Regions from separate parts of the Homo sapiens genome. Here all the other regions are linked to region 1. The links are contacts of gene promoters, found by promoter capture Hi-C in human tissues and cell types (Jung and others, 2019). All regions are on one chromosome and are shown on one strand. Each heading gives the region's core, a stretch centred on a gene start or on the middle of the fragment in contact. The rest is flanking DNA. Distances are from core to core; before and after follow the strand shown. Region 1 holds the start of NMRK2 (nicotinamide riboside kinase 2). Region 2 overlaps APBA3 (amyloid beta precursor protein binding family A member 3). Region 3 holds the start of PIP5K1C (phosphatidylinositol-4-phosphate 5-kinase type 1 gamma). Region 4 overlaps TJP3 (tight junction protein 3).

What was found. The method cuts DNA at HindIII sites, captures the fragments that hold promoters and counts their contacts. A contact is called where the count stands out against the background at its distance.
Region 2: a fragment that was not itself captured here is called in contact with the fragment with the promoter of NMRK2 in region 1 in 2 of the 25 tissues and cell types used here (aorta and dorsolateral prefrontal cortex).
Region 3: the fragment with the promoter of PIP5K1C here is called in contact with the fragment with the promoter of NMRK2 in region 1 in 1 of the 25 tissues and cell types used here (stomach).
Region 4: a fragment that was not itself captured here is called in contact with the fragment with the promoter of NMRK2 in region 1 in 1 of the 25 tissues and cell types used here (liver).

What each region holds. Positions count from the first base shown.
Region 1 is chr19:3,931,601-3,934,531 of GRCh38, reverse strand. It overlaps NMRK2 (nicotinamide riboside kinase 2), which reads right to left and starts at 1,463. Exons shown (of 8, transcript NM_170678.3): 1 at 1,354-1,463; 2 at 835-1,074. The coding sequence starts at 860. The HindIII fragment of the contact is 37,457 bases long and covers 1-2,931 here.
Region 2 is chr19:3,752,367-3,755,465 of GRCh38, reverse strand. APBA3 (amyloid beta precursor protein binding family A member 3) reads left to right here. Exons shown (of 11, transcript NM_004886.4): 4 at 1,126-1,271; 5 at 1,361-1,447; 6 at 1,540-1,701; 7 at 2,476-2,646; 8 at 2,746-2,958. Among named protein-coding and RNA genes, the nearest start is that of APBA3, 7.8 kb to the left of the region's middle. The HindIII fragment of the contact is 3,385 bases long and covers 1-3,099 here.
Region 3 is chr19:3,698,742-3,701,892 of GRCh38, reverse strand. PIP5K1C (phosphatidylinositol-4-phosphate 5-kinase type 1 gamma) reads left to right here and starts at 1,425. Exons shown (of 18, transcript NM_012398.3): 1 at 1,425-1,596. The coding sequence starts at 1,503. RefSeq lists silencers at 1,177-1,666, 1,747-1,886 and an enhancer at 1,585-2,368. The HindIII fragment of the contact is 9,003 bases long and covers 1-3,151 here.
Region 4 is chr19:3,723,298-3,726,356 of GRCh38, reverse strand. The region is part of intron 1 of TJP3 (tight junction protein 3); the gene reads right to left. Among named protein-coding and RNA genes, the nearest start is that of TJP3, 16 kb to the right of the region's middle. The HindIII fragment of the contact is 5,075 bases long and covers 1-3,059 here.

The DNA.
Region 1 (2,931 bases), core at 214-2,713:
ATTCAAGAGGGAGTCCGGCTAGCATTAGACCAAGCTCCCGTCCCTTCTGAGGCGGGGGTGTGAGCCCCACAAAGCCAGCCGTGCTGGTTACAGAGAGTTTGAATCTCTTCTAGCCTGAGGTCGCCTGAGAGAGGCTCCAAAGGCACAGTCATGTGGAATGACATTTTGGGGACCCCATCCCACCTGCCCACGTGTCAGTCCCCGATTTAGCCAGGACAGCCACGAGGCGGGAGGAGGGTTCACTGGAGCTTTAGTTAATTTTCTGTCCCTACTGATTTTTTTTTTGAGACACAGCCTCACTCTGTCGCCCAGGCTGGAGTGAAGTGGCATGATCGCACTCACTGCAACCTCCATCTCCCGGATTCAAGCGATTCTCCCACCTCAGCCTCCCCAGTAGCTGGGATTACAGGTATGCACCACCGTGCCCAGCTAATTTTTGTATTTTTAGTAGAGACGGGGTTTCACCGTGTTGGCCAGGCTGGTCTCAAATTCCTGACCTCAGGTGATCCACCCGCCTCGGCCTCCCAAAGTGCCAGGATTCCAGGCCTGAGCCACCGTGTCTGGTCTATTTTTTTTTTATGCTGAGTATAATTGGAAGGTGGCGGGAATCATTTCCATTTAAAAAATGAAACACTGGGCTCAGTGTCCAGCCCCCCTTCCCACTGGGGACACCGAGACCCCCAGGGCAGAAAATCCTCCCTGCACTCTGACCTCGGGCGGCGTGTAGGTGACCTCAGGCGCCAGGCATCCCTCCATTCATTCCCGGGCCTCCCCCTCTGCGCGCACAGGGGGCTTTGCCCCGCAGGGCCGCCCACCAGGTCCCCCGGCGCTCACCCTCCGATGCCCACGATGAGCTTCATGCCGGTGCGGAGGGGCGGCGGGGACGACTTCCAAGGCAGCCCGGGTAGGGTGCGACCACGCAGTGCGCTCCGGAGTGCGTCCCGGCTTCATTGAGAAAACCTGGCGCCTTTATAGGTCTCGGCAGCCTGGAGGCCGCCCCGGGGGAGGCGGCCCCTGGGGATGGGGCGGAGGCGCCGGCACCTGTTCCCGCCGCCGAATGGAAATAGCTCCAGGCTGCCTTTTGCCTAAATTAGTCACGAGCTGGCCGGGCAGGGGGCTGCCTCTTCCCTCCTCCCACCTCCCTGCCCTCTCTCCACTCCCTCCTCCCCTCTCCTCCCCTTCTTACCCCCTCCTCCCTCCTCTCCACCCCCACCCTCTTCCCTCCTCCTGGCCAGAGAGCTCAGATCAGCAGCCCCACACTTTTCCCTCCCTAAAAATATCCCGCTCTCTGTGTCCTATGGCCTGACCCTGACATTAAGACTGGTTCTCGTGGCGTCAAGGAAGCGAACTCACCCACCCCCGCCCGCACAGCAGCCCTAGAGGCCGGGACCCTGCGGGGAGCTTCGTTTTCCAACGAGGTCAGGGCCAAGGTGGGCTTAAGATCCTTAGCAGTGAATCACAAGATAGCCTTGCCCAGGTGACCGGGGGCCCAGCCACAGGATCTCAGCGTGACACCAGGGACCATTCATCCCGTGCCTGCCTTGTGGGTGGAGTCATTTGACTGGGGGCCGGCGGGGCGGGGAGGGGGTAATGGGGAGGAATGACACTCTGCTGCTTCTCTCTTCTACTGGTAAAGGGAAAAAGTATTCTCTTATTAAATGTTTTAATTTTTTTTTTTTAATTTCAGATGGAGCCGGGTGCAGTGGCTCACGCCTGTAATCCCAGCACTTTGGGAGGCCGAGGCGGGCGGATCACGAGGTCAGGAGTTCGAGACCAGCCTGGCCAGCATGGTGAAACCCCGTCTCTACTAAAAATACAAAAAAAATTAGCTGGGCATGGTGGCACACGCCTGTAGTCCCAGCTACTTGGGAGGCTGAGGCAGGAGAATCGTTTGAACCTGGCAGGTAGAGGTTGCAGTGAGCTGAGATTGTGCCACTGCACTCCAACCTGGGCGACAGAGCGAGACTCCGTCTCAAAAAAATAAAATAAAATAAAATAAAAATAAATAAATTTGAAACAGAGTTTTGCTCTGTCACCCAGGCTGGAGTGCAGTGGTACCATCTTGGCTTACTGTAACCTCTGCCTTCCAGGTTCAAGCAATTCTCCTTCGTCAACCTCCCCAATAGCTGGGATTACAGGCGAGCACCAACACGCCCAGATAATTTTTGTATTTTTAGTAGAGACGGGGTTTCACCATGTTGGCCAGGCTGGTCTTGAACTCCTGACCTCAGGTGATCTGCCCGCCTCAGGCCTCCCAAAGTGCTGGGATTACAGGTGTGAGCCACCATGCCCAGCCTACATTTTTGAATTTTTTGAGACAGGGTCTCGCTCTGTGGCCCAGGCTGGAGTGTGGTGATGTGATCACAGCTCACTGCAGCCTCAACTTCTCACACTGGGGCGATCTTTCTGCTTCAGCCTCCCGAGCAGCTGAGACTACAGGTTCGCACCACCACACCTAACTTTAAAATTTTTTGTAGAGATGGGGTCTTGCCATGTTGCCCAGGTTGGTCTTGAACTCCTGGCCTCACGTGATGATTCCTCCAACTCGGCCTCCCAAAGTGCTGGGATTACAGGCATGTGACGCCTCTCCCCACCAGAAAATAATTTTTCTGATGCTTCTTAAAACAGTAAGGCTGACTTTGTTGAGGCGGGTGAGGGACTACTACCATGGGGTTTTGTAGTATGGGAGGGAGATTGAATTCAATCTTCTCCCTTTCCACCAATACAAGGAAAAGTGGGAAATTATAGCCCAGGAGCAGGGGGGTGATCAGAGGATGGGAAGTGACTAGGAAGGTGGGGTGATAGGATGGCCAAGTTTGTATGTCTGTATGCAGTAAGAGATCAATACACCAAAGAGAGAGAGAATTTTTAAGAGATGAGGTCTTGTTACATTGCCTAGGCGGGTCTCTAACTCCTGGCCTCAAGTGATCC
Region 2 (3,099 bases), core at 245-2,744, 180 kb after region 1:
GAACTGTCTAGAATTCTCCTGGAACAGAATTGTTTGTTCCTTGACTGGTCAGGTAATTCTTAGAATCCCTGGTGTAGCCAAAGGTGTGAACTACTGAAGGAGATTCTAGAACCACAGGAAGAGCTGCCTGACGCGATTGTGATTAAGATGTTCTGGAATCACGGAGCAGAGAAGTCTGATTCTAGAGTGATAATAAGATTCTAAAACTCCTGACAGAATTGCTATGAGACCTGTCAGAGAGTTCTGGAATCAAGGGTCAGAACCAGCTGGGGTTCTGGAGAGTATGGGAATTTTAGACAGGCAGCAGGGTCTGTCTCTGTTCTGAGTGGTTCTACAACCCGGGAACAGAGCTGCCTGCTATCCTGGGCTGACTGCAGACGGTTCTAGAACAGTGGGCAGAGCTGGCCAGTTCTAGATTGATGGAGGGAATTCCAGAACCAAGAAGCAGGGGTCCACTGTGGTTCTAGAATGTTGTGGAGGTTTCGAAATTGGAGTGGGGGGTGGAGCGTCGTGGCTCACGCCTGTCATCCCAGTACTTTAGGAGGCCAAGGCGGGTGGATCACTTGAGGTCGGGAGTTTGAGACCAGCCTGGCCAACGTGGCGAAACCCCGTCTCTACTAAAAATACAAAAACTAGCCAGGCGTGGTGGTGGGCGCCTGTAATCCCAGCTACTCATGAGACTGAGGCAGGAGAATCGTTTGAACCCAGGAAGCGGAGGTTGCAGTGAGCTGAGATCACACCACCGAGCTCCAGCCTGGGCGACAGAGCGAGACCGTGTCTCAAAAAAGCAGGAGTGGGACTGTCTGGTTCCGGCCTGATCATGGAATTCTGGGGACACGGGGTGAAGGTATCTGTGGGTGCTAGATCTGGCTTTGAATCCAGCCATGGCCTGGACTCACTGGTTTCCCACCTGCGAGTCCTTGAGGGATGGACAGAAGGTTCTAGACCTGTGAGGGCCAGGCTGCTTGGATGGTTCTAGAACAGTGGGCTGTGCTTCCTGGCTGGAGAGTGCTAAGCCACCAGCTAGAACACTGTGTCTCCCGGCCATCTCGGAGAGCGTAGCCCTGGGGCAGAGCCTGTGGGAGTGGGCCCCTGGGGGCCGACCCTCTTCGCTGTCGCCCTCAGTGCCTGGTCCCTGTGACCATGAAGACCTCCTGGACGGTGTCATATTTGGGGCCAGGTACCTGGGGTCCACCCAGCTGGTGTCGGAACGGAACCCGCCCACCAGCACGCGCATGGCCCAGGCCCGGGAGGCCATGGACCGCGTCAAGGTGAGGGGGCGGCCGGGGCCGGGCGGGCAGGCGGGTGGGCTGCAGGCTGGGTCTGTGGGGGCCTCCACCTCCCACGCCGCCACCCACAGGCCCCCGATGGGGAGACCCAGCCCATGACGGAGGTGGACCTGTTCGTCTCCACCAAGAGGATCAAGGTCTTGACAGCGGACTCCCAGGTACGGGGCAGGGACCCGCCCCAGGGATGCGGGTGGGGTGATCGAGCCTGGCACGGCCCCCCAACCCACCCAGGCTGCCTCTCCCGCCCCAGGAGGCCATGATGGACCACGCCCTGCATACCATCTCCTACACAGCCGACATCGGCTGCGTGCTGGTGCTGATGGCGCGGCGGCGGCTGGCACGGAGGCCGGCACCCCAGGACCACGGCCGCCGCCTCTACAAGATGCTCTGCCACGTATTCTACGCGGAGGACGTGAGCAGCCAGGGCGCGGGGCCACCCTCCTGAGGCCCTCCTCACTGCAACTGTCGCCTCCCTCAGTGGGCCGTGCATTTAACCTCCCTCCCATAAGCTTATTTTTAAATTCTTTTTTTGGGACAAGGTCTCCTTCTGTCACCCAGGCTGGAGTGCAGTGGCGCAATCATAGTTCACTGCAGCCTCAACCTTCCAGGCTCAAGCGATCCTCCCACTTCAGCCTCTCTAGTAGCTGGGACCACCGGGGTATCACCATGCCTGGCTAATTTTTGTATTTTTTATAGAGACACGGTCTCGCTCTGTTGCCCAGGTGAACACGGTCTCAAACTCCTGGGCTCAAGCGATCCACCCACCTCAGCCTCCCAAAGTGCTGCAATTACAGGCGTGAGCCACCGCGTCCAGCCTCCTATAAGACTCCAAGACTCTCGGCCGACTCCCCGAAACCTTGCCCGCTCCTGGGCTGTCCCTGCCACCCATGAGGCCCCAGGCCCCCTGGCTGGGTCTTTGATAGCTTTTCCCACAGCCCATGCGCAGGGAGCTGCCTCCCTCATCGTCCCCCCAGCCCAGGGCTGCCCCTCCCCTTCCTTCTCCCCGTAGATTCCCCAAGATGCGGCTGTCTCTCCACCTCCCCCAAAGCCCCAGGGCAGAAGGCTGTGTCCTGGGACTCTCACCCCAGGTGGGGACAGGAGGGCTCAGCTCTGAGGACCCTGGGGACTTTGGGGACCTGGAGGAGGTGGGTGGGACACCCCAGGGACGCGCCACTCCTCCCCGCAGGCCCAGCTCATCGCCCAGGCCATTGGCCAGGCCTTCGCCGCCGCCTACAGCCAGTTCCTACGGGAAAGCGGTATTGACCCCAGCCAGGTGGGCGTGCACCCGAGCCCAGGCGCCTGCCACCTCCATAATGGGGACCTGGACCACTTCTCCAACAGTGACAACTGCCGGGAGGTGAGTGAGGTGCTGGGCAGCCCCCACCTGGTGCCCCCCACACCCGTGCACCTGCACCGGGCCCTGCTGAGCAGCCTCCGCGCCCCCTGTGTGTCCCAGGTGCACCTCGAGAAGCGGCGAGGGGAGGGCCTGGGCGTGGCCCTGGTGGAGTCGGGCTGGGGCTCCCTGCTGCCCACAGCCGTCATCGCCAACCTGCTGCACGGGGGGCCTGCTGAGCGCTCGGGGGCCCTCAGCATCGGGGACCGCCTGACCGCCATCAACGGGACCAGCCTGGTGGGGCTGCCCCTGGCTGCGTGCCAGGCCGCTGTCCGCGTGAGTTTCCTGGTGTGGCAGGGCCCCCACACTCCCAGGAAGGGGAGCTGAGTCCCAGAGAGGTCTCCTCCCTGGCCAGGTCTCTCCAGCCCAGCCAGGAGGGACAAAGTCGAACTTTTAAGTCCTGCCCACTGGTGTGCC
Region 3 (3,151 bases), core at 176-2,675, 230 kb after region 1:
GTTCACCCTATTCTCCTGCCTTAGCCTCCCAAGTAGCTGGGACTACAGGCGCCCGCCACCACGCCTGGCTAATTTTTTGTATTTTTAGTAGAGACGGGGTTTCACCATGTTAACCAGGATGGTCTCAATCTCCTGACCTCGTGATCCGCCCGCCTCGGCCTCCCAAAGTCTTGGGATTACAGGCATGAGCCACCGCGCCCGGCCCTGTGTAGATCAATATTATTTACATGTACTGTGTATATCACTGTTATTGGTATATTTTGTGCATATCAATGTTATTGACATGTAGTGTGTATATCAATGTTATTGACATGTAGTGTGTACATTAATGTTATTGGCATGTAGTGTGTATATCAATGTTATTGGCATGTAGTGTGTATATCCATGTTATTGGCATGTAGTGTGTATATCAATGTTATTGACATGTAGTGTGTGTATCAATGTTAGTTACATGTATTGTGTAGATCAATGTTATTGGTATTCATTGTGTATAGCAATGTGATTGGCATGTATTGCATATAGCAATGCTATTTGTATGTTTTATGTAGATCCATGTCAATGATATAGTATAGATTCATGTTATTGGCATGTATTGTGTATATCCATGTTATTGGCATGTATTGTGCATATCCGTGTTATTGGCATGTATTGTGTATATCCATGTTATTGGCATGCATTGGGTAACTCCATGTTATTGGCATGTGCTGTGTAGGTCCATGTGTGGTTTTTTTTGGGACAGAGTCTCACTCTGTGGCCCAGGCTGGAGGGCAATGGTGCGATCTCAGCTCACTGCAACCTCTCCCTCCTGGGTTCCAGCGATTCTCCTGCCTCAGCCTCCCGAGTAGCCGCGATTACAGGCATGTGCCACCACGCCCAGCTATTTTTTGTATTTTTAGTAGAGACAGGATTTCACCATGTTGGTCAGGATGGTCTTGAACTCCTGACCTCAGGTGATCCGCCCTCTTCGGCCTCCCAAAGTGCCGGGAATATAGGCGTGAGTCACCGCGCCCGGCCAGATCCATGTTATTGTCATGCGCTGTGCAGGTCCCTGTTATTGGCATGTGCTGTTTAGATCCATGTTATTGGCATGTGCTGTGTACATCCATATTATTGGCACGTGCTGTATAGATCCATATTATTGTCATGTGTTGTGTAGATCCATGTTATTGGTATGTGTTGTGCACAGCAATGTTATTGATACGTATCGTGCCTGTCAATCTTACTGACCTAATACGATGGAATGGCGAGCCTGGCTCTGTACTCCCACCCCTGGGCGCGAGGGGGCACTCGAGGCGCTCCTGGCTGCGGGTCGCAAGCAGGCCCCGCCCCCGAGCCCCGATTGGCCGCGCGCCGTCCGCGGCGTCGCACGCACGCAGGCCCCGCCCCGTCCGCCCCGCGCCGGCCCGGCGCGCCCTCCCTTGGCCGGCGGCGCTTGTTGTTCGGCGGCGGCGGTCGCAGCTCGGGTCCCCCTCGGGCGCCCCCGCCGCCGTCCGCGCGCGGCCATGGAGCTGGAGGTACCGGACGAGGCGGAGAGCGCTGAGGCGGGGGCCGTGCCCTCGGAGGCGGCGTGGGCGGCAGAGAGCGGGGCGGCGGCAGGTAACGGCCCGGCCTCCCGGGGCTGCGGCCCGCTGGGCTCGTCCGAGCGCCGAGAGTCGCGGGGCTGCGGGGCCGGGGCGGGGGCTGCACGGTCGCTGCGGGGGCGCCGCCGGTTCCAGGAGCCTGGGGCGGGGCAGTCCCCTGGAGCCGCGGGGAGGACGGGGCTGAAGCCGCGCCGGGAAGCGGGAGGCCTGCGAGGGGCTACCTCCCACCGCTCCCGGGCCGGGGGCGACTCGGCGTGGGCGCCGCTGGGGATCCCCGTTCTGCCTGACCCGCTCCCAGGGGCTGCCCGTCGTGTGAGTGGCGGCTGCTTGGGTGGAGGCGGGGGTCTCTGAGGCCGTGCGTGCCCACCTCCTGATGTCACCTCCCTTTCTGTAAGTCCCCAGACCTGAGTCCGGGTGCGCGACCTTTCCTCACCTTCCTGGGCCTCAGTTTACCTCCCTGCTAAAATGAGGGGAGGAAAAGGGTTACATCTCAAGATGCCTCCACCGCCCCGGCTGTGCACACAGGGTGCCCTGTCGCCCCCTTTTCCTCTCCCCGAGCCTTCCCCCAGGACACACTGGTGGGGCTGCGGGCTGGGCGGGGGGCACGGCTGTCTCATGCCCCCTTTAGCTGCTTCCTGGACCTCCAGCCGGGTAGGTGGCGGCAGCTGGGCCTTCCCTTCTGTGGGGACGGTGTGCAGAGCCCAGAGGAAGGGAACAGTTCCTTCTCAGTCGAGGTCACAAGCTCCCAAATCGGAAGTTTCCGGATTCACAAAATCCTCTGCTCCTCCCAGGCAGCCAGCAGCAGCGTCTCTGTAGACACCCACACGGGCATCCGTCCTCCTTCTCCCCCCAGGCCTCCCGAAGCTTCCTTGGTTGGCAGGCGGGCAAGCGGGCGGGCGGGCGATGCGTGCTGCCTGGGAGTTGGGGAGATGTCTGGAGAGAGAGAGAGTGTGGAAGTCATCAAGTCCCCCCCCCACCCCCCGCCTTGAAAGACACTCGTGGCTTCCCTCCCGGCGGCCATCTGGAACCGCTTGGTAGGTGACCCGGTTCCTTCCCCAGAGCCAGTGGCCTCGCCCCTTTCTTTGCGGGCAGCCGGTGTCCTGGCCTGGCCAGCAAGAGACATGGTGGAGGAACCCAGGCAGGGCACCAGGCCCCAGCCCGGGTTCCTTTCTTGGGCCCCCCAACTTCCGCTGTCAGCCCTCTGACCCCAGCTGGTCAGAGACAAAGTAGCCCAGGACTCGCTGACCAAAAGAAAACCACACCGCGACCATTCATCTTATCAGGGGCTCTGGGAGCACCGGGGACAGATAAAGTTGCCAGCTCCAGACTGAGCATGGTGGTGGGGTGGGAGAGCGGGGGAGTGGGGGGGTGGGGGTGGGGGGCCGGGGAGGGCTGGAAGGTCAGGGTCTGGCATCTCTGCCCATCCCTGAAATCCACAGAAATCTGACCCCAGCTGGCCATATACTGCTTCTGAATGTTTAAAATTCAGAGTTGCCTCACTCCTCCAACGCCATCCCTCCTGATGTTAGCGCTGGTGAGTTTAGGTTGTGCCTGGCTGGGCCACAGAGACG
Region 4 (3,059 bases), core at 501-3,000, 210 kb after region 1:
CAAAGTGCTGGGATTACAGGCGTGAGCCTCCACACCAGGCAGATTCTGTTATTTTCATGTCCATGGCATGAATGAGAACACCAGACTCAGGTGCAAGGTCACCTGGCCACGCCTCCACCCTCCCTTCCCTCCTGCCAGCACGCACCATGCCCTGCTCCCCAGGCAGGGGACAGGTGGAGGGAGTGGGGAGGGAGTTTGTAGAAGTGACTCCTCCTCCTCCCCGGGGCGGGTTTTCTAGGCTTGGCACAGCGGGTGTGTGATTCCCTCTGCCCAGGCACCCCCCATTGGTGCGCTCCAGTGCCTTTTCTTATAAGCTCCAGCGTCTCTAGCGAGGCCAGCATTCCTGATCTCCAGGAGTGGGAAGGCGGGTGGAGGGGAGAGAAACAGAGCAGAGGGCAGGGCTCTGCAGTTCTGAAGGAGCCAGGGCAGCGCTCAGGACTGGACTCAAATCCCAAGTCTGCCCACCCGTGCTAGCTATGGCGGGGCCTCTCCCAGCCTCAGTCTCCCCATCTGTGAAATGGCACTGCTGCCCTGTCTTGCAGGGATGTGGTTTGGGAAAAGGGTACAGATTCAATGCCTGAAAAGCAAAAAGCAGAAGGAGCCTTGGGGAGGTGGTGGCCAAATAATGACTTTCTCCTTGTGTAGTTTTTTTTTTTTTTTTTGAGATGGGGTTTTTTGCTCTTGTTGCCCAGGCTGGAGTGCAATGGCGTAGTCTCGGCTCACTGCAACCTCCACCTCCTGGGTTCAAGTTATTCTCCTGACTCAGCCTCCCGAGTAGCTGGGATTATAGGCACCCACAACCACAGCCAGCTACTTTTTGTATTTTTAGTAGAGACGGGGTTTCACCATGTTGGTCAGGCTGTCTTGAACCTGGCTGCAAGCAGGCGCTTGATGTGGACCCATTCATTTCATCCTCAGAGTGACCTTAGGAAGTGGCACAGTTATTATTCCTACTTTAGAGGTGAGATTAAAAGGGGCCTAGAGAGGTTCAGTAACTTGCCTGAGGTCACGCAGCACAGTGGTGAACTTGGCAGCCTGCCCTGTTCTCTGGCTCTTTTTTGGTTGGTTGGTTGGTTGATTGGTTGTTTGGTTTTTGAGACGGGGTTTCACTCTGTTGCCCAGGCTGGAGTGCAGTGGCTCAATCACAGCTCACTGCAGCCTTGAACTCCCAGGCCCAAGGGATCCTCCTGCTTCAGCCTCCCAGGTAGCTGGGACCACAGGCATGCACCACCACACACAGCATATTTTTTTGTTTTTTTGTAGAGATGGGGTTTTGCTATGTTGACCAAGCTGGTCTCAAATTCCTGGGCCCAAGCGATCCTCCCACCTCAGCCTCCTAAAGTGTTGGAATTACAGGCGTGAGCCACCGCACCCAGCCTCACTCTTGCTCTTAACCACCAGGCTACAGTGGCTTTCTGATTATTTACTCTTTTTCTTCTGAGCTTATTTTTCAAAACTGCATCTTTTTTTTTTTTAACCTGCTTTGATGTTATACTTTGTGTCATTAAATGGCCCCAGGGCCGGGCACGGTGGATTCTGCCTATAATCTCAGCACTTTGGGAGACCGAGGCAAGAGGATTGCTTGAGCCCAGGAGTTCAAGACCAACCTGAGCAACATAGTGAGACCCTCATCTCTACAAAAAAATACAAAAATTAGCCGGGCATGGTGGCATGCACCTGTGGTCCCAGCTCCTCGAGAGGCTGAGGCAGAAGGATCACCTGAGCCCAGGAGGTCGAGGCTGCAGTGAATTGTGATCGTGCCTCTGCACTCCAGCCTGGGCGACAGAGCAAGACCCTGTCTCAAAAAAAATTTTTAAATGGCCCCAAGGAATTTGTATTTCCTGACTTTAAGAGACAGCCCTGCCCGGGCACAGTGGCTCATGCCTGTAATCCCAGCACTTTGGGAGGCTGAGGCAGGCAGACCACAAGGTCAGGAGATCGAGACTATCCTGGCTAACATGGTGAAACCCCGTCTCTACTAAAAATACAAAAAATTAGCAGGGCGTGGTGGCCGGCGCCTGTAGTCCCAGCTACTCAGGAGGCTGAGGCAGGAGAATGGCGTGAACCTGGGAGGCGGAGCTTGCAGTGAGCCAAGATTGTGCCACTGCACTCCAGCCTGGGCGACAGAGGGAAACTCCGTCTCAAAAAAAAAAAAGAGACAGCCCCAGGGAACCAGGGCCCCCGAACCCAGAGTGGGAGAGGGGCGAGGGAGTCCAGGTGGTCCAGGCTTGTCCCAGCTTGTGCGGGTTCGTCTCCATGGAAACCAGAAGCTTTGTCTAAACCCTCCAGAGCTCCACAGTGCCTGAGGGATTAAGCCTAACCTCACAGCCCACCTCATCTTAGTTCACCTCCAAACCTTTACCCCATCTGTCCCCTGAATCTGGGACATGTTTCACGGGATTCCTGCCTGGCTGGCCCCTGCCACTGAGGTCTAGGCTCAAATGCCACCTCCTCAGGAAGTCCTCCCTGACCACCTAGCTAACCAGTCTTCTCTGATCCCCTATCACTCCTGCCTATTTTATTATTTTATATATATATATATATATATTTTTTTTTTTTCTTTTGAGACAGAGTGTCACTCTGTCACCCAGGCTGGAGTGTAGTGACACAATCTCAGCTCACTGCAACCTCCGCCTCCTGGGTTCCAGCAATTCTCGTGCCTCAGCCTCCCAAGTAGCTAGAATTACAGGCGTCCAACCACCACGCCCGGCTAATTTTTGTATTTTTAGTAGAGGTGGGGGTTCACCATGTTGGCCAGGCTGGGCTCAAACTGCTGACCTCAGGTGATCCACCTCCCTCAGCCTCCCAAAGTGCTGGGATTACAGGAGTGAGCCACCACGCCCAGCCTGTTTTATTATTTTTTATTCAAGGCATCTAAAAATCATCTTTATTCTCTTTAACCATCGGTTAGTATGTTTCTGGTCTTTCCTCTTAGGCTGTGAAAGGAGACATGTCTGTCTCTCTGGCTACTTAAGGCCCAGGTGATTGGCCATCAGCCTCCTTTCCAGGCCTTGAGTGCTGGTACTGGACTCCCTGGCAAACTCCTATTCATCCTTCAC